2 separate regions of the Homo sapiens genome follow, and region 2 is linked to region 1. Evidence: promoter capture Hi-C in 16 types of primary human blood cells and fetal thymus (Javierre and others, 2016). All regions are on one chromosome and are shown on one strand. Each heading gives the region's core, a stretch centred on a gene start or on the middle of the fragment in contact. The rest is flanking DNA. Distances are from core to core; before and after follow the strand shown. Region 1 holds the start of CUBN (cubilin). Region 2 overlaps CUBN (cubilin).

Region 1 (4,436 bases), core at 1,655-4,154:
ATGGGTGACAATGAGCAATTGAATGCTTAGATTGGGAGCTGAGAGATTATCTTTACTTTGTTGAGTAATAAACACATTAATTAACAAAACAGGAAAATCCTGTCAAAGAGGAAGTCCTTATTAAGATCATGCTGGAGGCCTTTTCTATTGCACTGGAAAGATTAGCTGAGTTCAGTGGTCTTTAAGAAAGTATAATCATGAAAATAGTTACGTCCAGAGCTCAGAGAGTTTGAATTATCCTTTTGATTGGAAGATTCTAGCCCAGACTATTTTATCCTATTCTAAACTTGCCAAAAATTTCATATTGTCAAACTTTCCCTCCACCCCATGCCAAGTTGTTAAGCTTTCAAATAAACAAATTTATTATGATAAATTTCATCTCTATTGATGTAAAGGCTATTGGATATCTTTTCTTAGCATTTAGTTTAATACCAAATTAATATTTTGTATCATCCTGATATATGAAGACATTTACAAATATAGAAGAGAAATAATTTTAATCAGTTTTATTGTGCTGTAATTTACATCTGCCAAAGATTATCTATTTTAACTATACAGCTTTATGAGTTTTGACAAATTTATACAGTCATGCAACCACAATCACAATCATGATACAGAACATTTTCATCACCCTTAAATATTCCCTCATGCCTCCTTGCGATCAATCTCCTCCCCAACCCCTGGCCTCTGATTTGTTGTCTATCAATCAGTGTAGTTTTGGCTTTTTTAGATTTTCATATGGAATCATGTGATATAGAATCACTTAGGAAGTAGTCTTTTGTGTCTTATTGTTGTCCTTGAAAAATATTTTTAAGCAAGCAAAATGACTTGCCACAGGTTGGCAGAAAAATATTTGCAAAATACGTATTTGAAAATTCTTGTATCTAGAATATATGAGCTCTTACAATCAATAAAAGACAAACAACAAAATTTTAAAAAATAGGCAAAATATCTAAACAGACAGTTCACCGAAGAAGATAAACAAATGGCAAATATACATAAAAAGATGCCCAACATCTTTGGTCATTAGGGAAATATAAATTAAAATTGTAATGAGATACCTATGTTGACACAAAGACCTGTTCACAAATGTTCATAACAGCTTTATTTATAATAGTCCCAAACTGGAAATAACTCAAGTGTTTATCAACTGATGAGTAGAGAAGCAAACTGTGGGATAGCCATATGATGAAATACTACTCAATAATAAAAGGGAACCAATTAATGATATACACTACAGCACAGATGAATTACAAAAGCATTATGTTGAGTGAAAGAAGCAGATACAAGAGACATATAGAAGAAATTGGGAAGGTTTAAAAAAAATTTTTAAAAGCAGTGACTATTTGAGTATCACAAGTAAAGTTTTTTTTTGTTTTGTTTTGTTTTTGAGACGGCATCTCGCTCTGTCCCCCAGGCTGGAGTGCAGTGGCATGATCTCAGCTCACTGCAAGCTCCGCCTCCCGGGTTCACGCCATTCTCCTGCCTCAGCCTCCCGAGTAGCTGGGACTACAGGCGCCCGCCACTAAGCCCGGCTAATTTTTTGTATTTGTAGTAGAGACGGGGTTTCACCACGTTAGCCAGGATGTTCTCGATCTCCTGACCTCGTGATCCGCCCGCCTCGGCCTCCCAAAGTGCTGGGATTACAGGCGTGAGCCACCGCGCCCGGCATAAGTAAAGAATTATAAGCTATGGTACATAATGATCCTCTCCTCAAAGAGCCTACATAAGTAAGACACAAAATAAGTAAAACACAAACAGGCTTGTCCTGAAAGAGCCTGCATGGGTATTAACCAATGCAATGGTAATTACCTAGAGATTTTTCTTAGAAGTGAAATTTTTACAGCTCTCCCTCAAATTCAGTTTTGTCTGTGTGCTCATGGAAAGTCTGAGTGCATCAATAGTTGATTTTACAATCGAAATGTAGAATATTTTCATCACTCTCAGTGGTTTCTGTAGTCCCAGCACAGAGTGAGTGGGGACATCAGTGCTCCATGTCCTCAAACCATATATCCAGCTGGAAGGGTGTATAGCGCAGTGTGGAAAGTGGGAATGGATTCCACAGCCGTCCATAGGTCCCACAGGGATGATAAAAAGTAAAAAGTACAAATTCTTTGTACATTCTGGATATTAACCCATTTTCATATATATATGATTTGCAAATATTTTCTTCCATTCTGGGAGTTGCTTTTTCACTCTGTTGATGTATTTTTTGATGCACAAACGTTTTTAATTTTGATGTATTCCAATTTATATCTTTTGGTTGTCTGTGTGTTTTTCTTTTTTTGCCCATGCTTTTGGTATCATACTCAAGAAATCATTGCCAAATCCAAAATCCAAGGTCATGAATTTTTGTCCTATTCTTCTGAGTTTTATGTTATAGTTTCAGATTTTTTGAACCATTGTGAGTTAATTTTATAGTTTTAGCTCTTAGATTTAGATCTTTGAACTTTTTTGAGTTAATTTTTGCATATGGTATGAGGTAAGCCTCCAACTTCTTTTGCATGTGGATATCTAGTTTTCCTAGCGCTGGGTAAAGGTGGAACTCCTCTGCAAGGGAGGTGAGGAAGGAGGGGAACAGAGAAAGGTGTAGATAATGACCAGTTTACTTTTGTTGAAACCTAGTTACTTCTTAAGCAAAGATTGTTTAAGTGGATGTTTTCAAAGCTGCTTGTTACTGTTTCAAAGGTCAAATAGATAATGATTAAGTTGCGCATCACTTAAGGTAGATTTTGACCTCTCACAAGTTGAAGAGTACTGAAGATCTAAGATCATTTACATCCCTCTGGAAGAAAAAATAACATAGCCTTCTAGGGCAAAGAAGAAAAAACTCAACAGTTACAGGATATTCCATGGTTCAAAGTACACCTGCCTGGTTTGCTGTTCTCCAAAATCCCATGCTCAGTTGGTTGGAGTGGCCTCACTCTTACCTGCCAACCTGGGAGGTTGATGATGAACATGTCTTTACCTTTTCTTTGGAGTTTGCTTACCTTATTAATATTTGCTGAAGTAAATGGCGAAGCTGGAGAACTTGAGCTGCAGAGACAAAAAAGAAGCATCAATCTCCAACAGTAAGTAAACACATGGGTCATTCCTGCTCAGGGACTAGGCTAATTCCTCACCAGTTTTCCCAAATAGCCAGATAAACAAAGGTGCAATTTTTCTTGAGGAAAATTATGTTGAGAAGCAAACAGGGAAAAACATTTAGACTGAGGTATGAAATTACTTTCCTATGCACAAATTATTATCTGTCATTTTGCAAATAATCTGTTTGCAATTGCCAGGAGGTATCTCTGAGAAATGTGCAGAGAAAAAAGTGGCAGATGAGCAGGGGCAGTTGGGTTGAGATGATCAAAAAGTGAAGATGTATTTGGCCTGTAGTTATTCAGTAAGAAACTTTGTTATTTTGGTTTAAAAATTGTACTTGCTAATTACTGATGCATTCTCTCGTTTGAATTATATAGGCCTCGAATGGCTACAGAGAGAGGAAATTTGGTGTTTCTTACGGGGTCTGCTCAAAACATTGAGTTTAGAACCGGATCCCTGGGAAAAATTAAATTAAATGATGAAGATCTCAGTGAGTGTTTACATCAGGTAATACACTGGAAATATATTGAAGTCATTTTGTATATCCATATACGGTGACTTAATTGAACAAGTCTAGATTAATCTGTACCTTGAATCTTTTTTAATTATTATTTTTTATTAATACATAATTTGATACATTCCTATAATGTGTAAAGTTCAAATCAGGGTAATTGGGATATCCATCACCTTAAATATTTACCTTTTCTTCATGCTAAGAACATATGAATTGTTCTCTTCTAGTTATTTTGAAATGTACAATAGATTAATGTTAACTATAGTCACCCTACTGGTCTATCAAACACTAGGTCTTATTTCTTCTATCTAACTATATATTGTATTCATTAATCAACCTGTCTTCAGCCTCCCTCCCCCTTCCTAGTGTACCTTGAATCTTTAGCATAGAGAACATAATTGGGCATCAGACATGTTCTTGTAAAGGACGATGGCCTGGGGTTAATAGTGGGTAGAGGGAGTATGCTAAAAGATAGAAGCTCATTGTGCCAGACAATGCACCCTAGTCCAGAGAAGGCACGGAGGGTGGAACTGAAACTCCTCCACAGGGGATGCGAGGAAGTAGGGGACCAAGGATATGTGGACATGTGACCAGTTTGCTTTTGCCACAGAACAGAATTGGCCAGTTATTCTCCTGCCTTACTGGGTGTTTTCATTTCCCAATAATCACTGCATATTTCAGTCATAATGTTAGAAGTCAGCATTATTCAGAGCTTACTGTGGGCCATCCACTGTGCTTAGCACCGTATGGATGTTATCTCATTTGACCTTCACAGCTGTCCTATGAGGTGGCCTTTATTGTCACCCTAGTTTTACAAGAGGTAAAGAAACCCTGA
Region 2 (4,431 bases), core at 280-2,779, 260 kb after region 1:
CTCACTATTTGTTTCTCATATGTGTAGGATTGATTATTGCCTTGTTCTGTTCAGGTTGCTTTAACAAAATATCATAAACTGGGTGGCTTATAAACAACAAAAGGCTGCAAAAGTCCAAGGTCGAGGCAGATTCGTTGTCTGGTGAGCTCCTGTTTTCTGGCTTATAGAAGGTACCTTCTTGCTGTGTCTTCATGAGCTGGAAGGGCCTCTTATAAAACACTAATCCCATTTGTGAGGGGTCCTCCCCCATGACCTAATCACCTCCCATAGGCCCCACTTCCTATACCATTAGCTTAGGGAACATATGAATTTAGGGGAACACAAACATTCCAACCATGGTATACATACCAACTCATAGAGGTATGTTATATATTCTCTCTCTCTTTATCTGTCTATCTATCTATATATATATGTATGTATACAATCTAAATGTATTTTTTCAGTTTTCAGCCTGGATCCTGGAGCTCACCATAATGAAATTTACATCTGCATGTTTATTTTATTTTACTTATTTATTTATTTGAGACTAGCTCTCACTCTGTCGCCCAGGCTGGAGTGCAGTGGCGTGATCTCAGCTCACTGCAACCTCCACCTGCTGGGTTCAAGCGATTCTCCCACCTTAGCCTCCTGAGTAGCTGGGACTACAGGTGTGTGCCACCAGCCTGGGTAATTTTTTCTTTTGTATATATATATATATTTAGTAGAGATGGAGTTTTGCCATGTTGGCCAGGCTGGTCTTGAATCCCTGACCTCAAGTGGTCCACCTGCCTCGGCCTCCCAAAGTGCTGGGATTGCAGGTGTGAGCCACCACACCCAGCCTACATCTGCAGGTTTAGAAAATTATTTATTGCGCACTAAGAGCCTACATTCTAGGAAACAGATAAGATTCTAGGTGTGGTAGAAGATGCAGACATTAATAAAAGGCTCTCAAAAGATTGTGGTTACACAAGCTTTTCTGTCAATGGGCTTTTCAGATCTCTTCTGTGCTCTCCTGGGAAAATGATGTAAAATAAAAAGCCAAAGCAGATTTAAGTCCTCTTAGAAACTCAGATTTTATCTCTCTTTGTGGATTCTTTTTGTGAAAAATAAATGTGTTGTCTGTAGAGAATTAAAATGAATACAGTGTTGTTGGAAATTATCTAGCTATTGTTCTTCCCTGATCTTTTACAATAACATTAAATGTTAAATGTGGTAAAAGAAAATCAATACGGTTTTCATCTTGTTCCTCATCAGTCTGAAAACCTTCAACCAACCAAAACCTTTTAGAAAAAAAACCAACAATTTTTTTTCTCAAGGCTGTTGAAAGGAAGCATTTATTATATATTTTATATATAAATATATATTATTTAGTCTATATTTTCAAAATTATTCCATATTATGGATTGTTTATTAGAGCTACTGCCAAAATAAATTGAAAATGCAGGCTGGGCATGGTGTCCCATGCCTGTAATCCCAGCACAGGGAGGCTGAGGCAGGCAGGTCACCTGAGGTCAGAAGTTCAAGACCAGCCTGGCCAACATGGCAGAAACCTCATCTCTACTAAAAAATATACATGTAATTAAAAAAAATAGCCAGGCATGGTGGTGGACACCTGTAATCCCAGCTACTCGGGAGGGTGAGGCAAGAGAATCACTTGAACCAGGGAGGCAGAGGTTGCAGTGAGCTGAGATTGTGCCACTGCACTCCAGCCTGTGCAACAGAGTGAGACTCTGTCTCAAAAAAAAAAAGAAAAAGCAGAAGAACCTATAAAAATGAGGACAGGATATCAAATATTATTTTTTTAAACAAGTTTTAAAAATAAGCTATAATAAACCCACCACAAAACTCTAAAGTAAATCCATGTAAGAAGCCTTGCTTGTTCAGGAACTCTAGAAATCGTTATTTGAAATGACAAAGAATAAGACCTGAATTAAACACTGTATAAGACAGAGAAAAGTTAGGGATGCATCTGTCAGGATAGGTTATGCACATAGTAACAAACAACTCCACCTCACAGCAGCTTAACTCAACAAGTTGATTTCTCATTGTAATGAGCATGTTCAGTGTGGCCTGGCATGGAAGCTCTGCTCATCGTGGTCATCCAACAACCCAGGCTGATGGAAGCTTCGTTTTTACATTTGCTTCCATGATCATCACTGCAGTGGGAAGGCAGTGTGGCAAAGCAAGTAGTCATTTGTAAAGCTTCTTCCGTAAAGTAATATGTATCCCTTCTGCTTACATTTCTGTGGTCAAAGCAACTCCTAGCAGCCATGTCAAGCCTCAAAGTGTGCCCCTAGGGCAATCCTACCAGTGCTGGGGAGGCAGAGAGCTGGGACCATGTGCAGAAGTGTCAGTGACCACCACAGAGGTCTTAAATGTAAATTTCCTGTTCTTCACCTGACCTTAACATAAACTTCATTTTAAAAGAGGAAAATGAGACTGTGAGGAGAATGGAGCTGTGATTCTAAAAGCAGCATTTCTTCTATTATATTAACATGCTTCCCATAAGTTCTACTTCATCTCATAAAATAACAAGGGAAGAGTAAATATGGTATTTTTAATGAGACCTAAAAAACTAAAGTATTGCTGGGATAGTAAATATCAGTTCAACTTGTCAAAAGTTGTTCTCAGATGGACTTTAATATGCCCTAGACTGTGAATTCCTTGAAAAGTAAGACTGTATCTTACTCACTTTGACATCCCCAGCTGCTGTCACAGTTTTTGTTGTATTGTAATTACTAAAAACAAATTTGGCTAAACTTTTGAACTGATCAGTAAAGTACTGTTTGATTTCTAATATTTCATATCAAGTGAGTTTTGAATGCTCTACTGGTAGTTTTTTCCTTGTCATTTTTTTTGCAAGAGCTAAAGCTACAATTTAATAGAAGTCCAAATGGAAACATCAGTATTAACAAGGTACATTTCACAGGTTCAGTGATTTTGATGTGGTTCCCTCCACCTCCTGCTCCCATGACTACCTGGCAATTTACGATGGTGCCAATACCAGCGATCCCCTTCTTGGCAAATTCTGCGGTTCCAAGCGCCCACCAAATGTGAAGAGCAGCAATAATAGTATGCTCCTGGTGTTCAAGACAGATTCATTTCAGACAGCAAAAGGCTGGAAGATGTCTTTCCGGCAGACATTGGGTAAGAATTCTGGACTTGTAAATCTATTTGTCAGGACTGTTACCTTTCTGCTTTATTTAATTTCCCCGCCCCCCCCCCACCCCCACCTGATTATGATTGCTTTTCCTTGAAGCTTAGAAGAATATGCCATGTAAGGGCTTGGTTTTAAAACTTACGTATGACATATTTTAATGTTGTAAAAAAATCACTCAACAAATGTACCCAGCACTTTGGGAGGTTGAGGCGGGTGGATCACCTGAGGTCAGGAGTTCAAGACCAGCCTGGCCAACATGGTGAAACCCCATCTCTACAAAAATACAAAAATTAGCTGGGCATGGTGGTGTGTGCCTGTAATCCCAGCTACGCAGGAGGCTGAGGTGGGAGAATTGCTTGAACCCAGGAGATGGAGGTTGCAGTGGGCCAAAATCATACCATTGCACTCTAGCCTGGGTGACAGAATGAGACTCTGTCTCAAAAAAAAAAAAAAAAAAATCACTTTGGTAGCACAGTGGAGGAAGGCTAGAAGAACCTACAACATGGGAAGGAAGAAGCTTATGATAGAAATCTAGATGGGAAGTGTCAAAGCCTTGAACGGACCCAGAGGGGAAAGAGATAAAGGGAAGGGCAGAAATCTGAGAGACGGAAGGCAGAATACATTGGAAGCACAGTGTTTGGACTCTGATGATATTTTAATGAGGACATGAATTGAGGATGACTTTCTATAGGTAATTTGTTGGATGATGGTGGCTTAGGAGACTAAGATTTAAGGGAGAAATGTTTTATTTAATTTGGAGTATTTTAAGTTGGAAGACCTGTTTAAATGGAGCTGTCTAGTTGGAAGCTGATGCTTGAGAAGGAATTTGGACTGGAGAGGGTGATGTAGCGGGGGTAGGTAAAGTTAGGTGAGAGGATAAACTGAAAATATGCCCCAGATTACTCCCACTGCATGTGAGAAATAAATTATCCACATCAAACACCACTGGTGAGAAATACCCATATCAAATTAACTCAGAATTTTGAATAATTTAAAATAAAAGGTAGTTAATCAATTACCTGTTTGGCTATTCTAACAGCATCAGTGACACAGTCTAAGATCATTAATATTCGACTCTGGAAAGTGTTTTGATCCTTTTCCTTTTGAATATAGATGTGATTAATGTTCTAAAAATGCACAACTCTCCAAACAAATCTCATACTCTGTGAAGACTCAGAAAAATCCAGGCAGTTTTCTGTAATAATAACCCTGATTCACTTTTCAAACTTTCTGTTTCTTCCATAGTGTGGATAAACTTCGTTTCTCTGATGCAAAACGGAGTTTACCTTCAA

What was found. Contacts are between HindIII fragments. The CHiCAGO score rates a contact against its expected background, and 5 or more counts as called.
Region 2: a fragment that was not itself captured here is called in contact with the fragment with the promoter of CUBN in region 1 in 11 of 17 cell types (activated CD4 T cells, M1 macrophages, total CD8 T cells and 8 more); the score reaches 15.5 in activated CD4 T cells.

The regions. Positions count from the first base shown.
Region 1 is chr10:17,128,279-17,132,714 of GRCh38, reverse strand. CUBN (cubilin) reads left to right here and starts at 2,904. Exons shown (of 67, transcript NM_001081.4): 1 at 2,904-3,071; 2 at 3,465-3,594. The coding sequence starts at 2,950. The HindIII fragment of the contact is 5,551 bases long and covers 346-4,436 here.
Region 2 is chr10:16,868,331-16,872,761 of GRCh38, reverse strand. CUBN (cubilin) reads left to right here. Exons shown (of 67, transcript NM_001081.4): 59 at 2,909-3,126. Among named protein-coding and RNA genes, the nearest start is that of RSU1, 53 kb to the right of the region's middle. The HindIII fragment of the contact is 1,153 bases long and covers 953-2,105 here.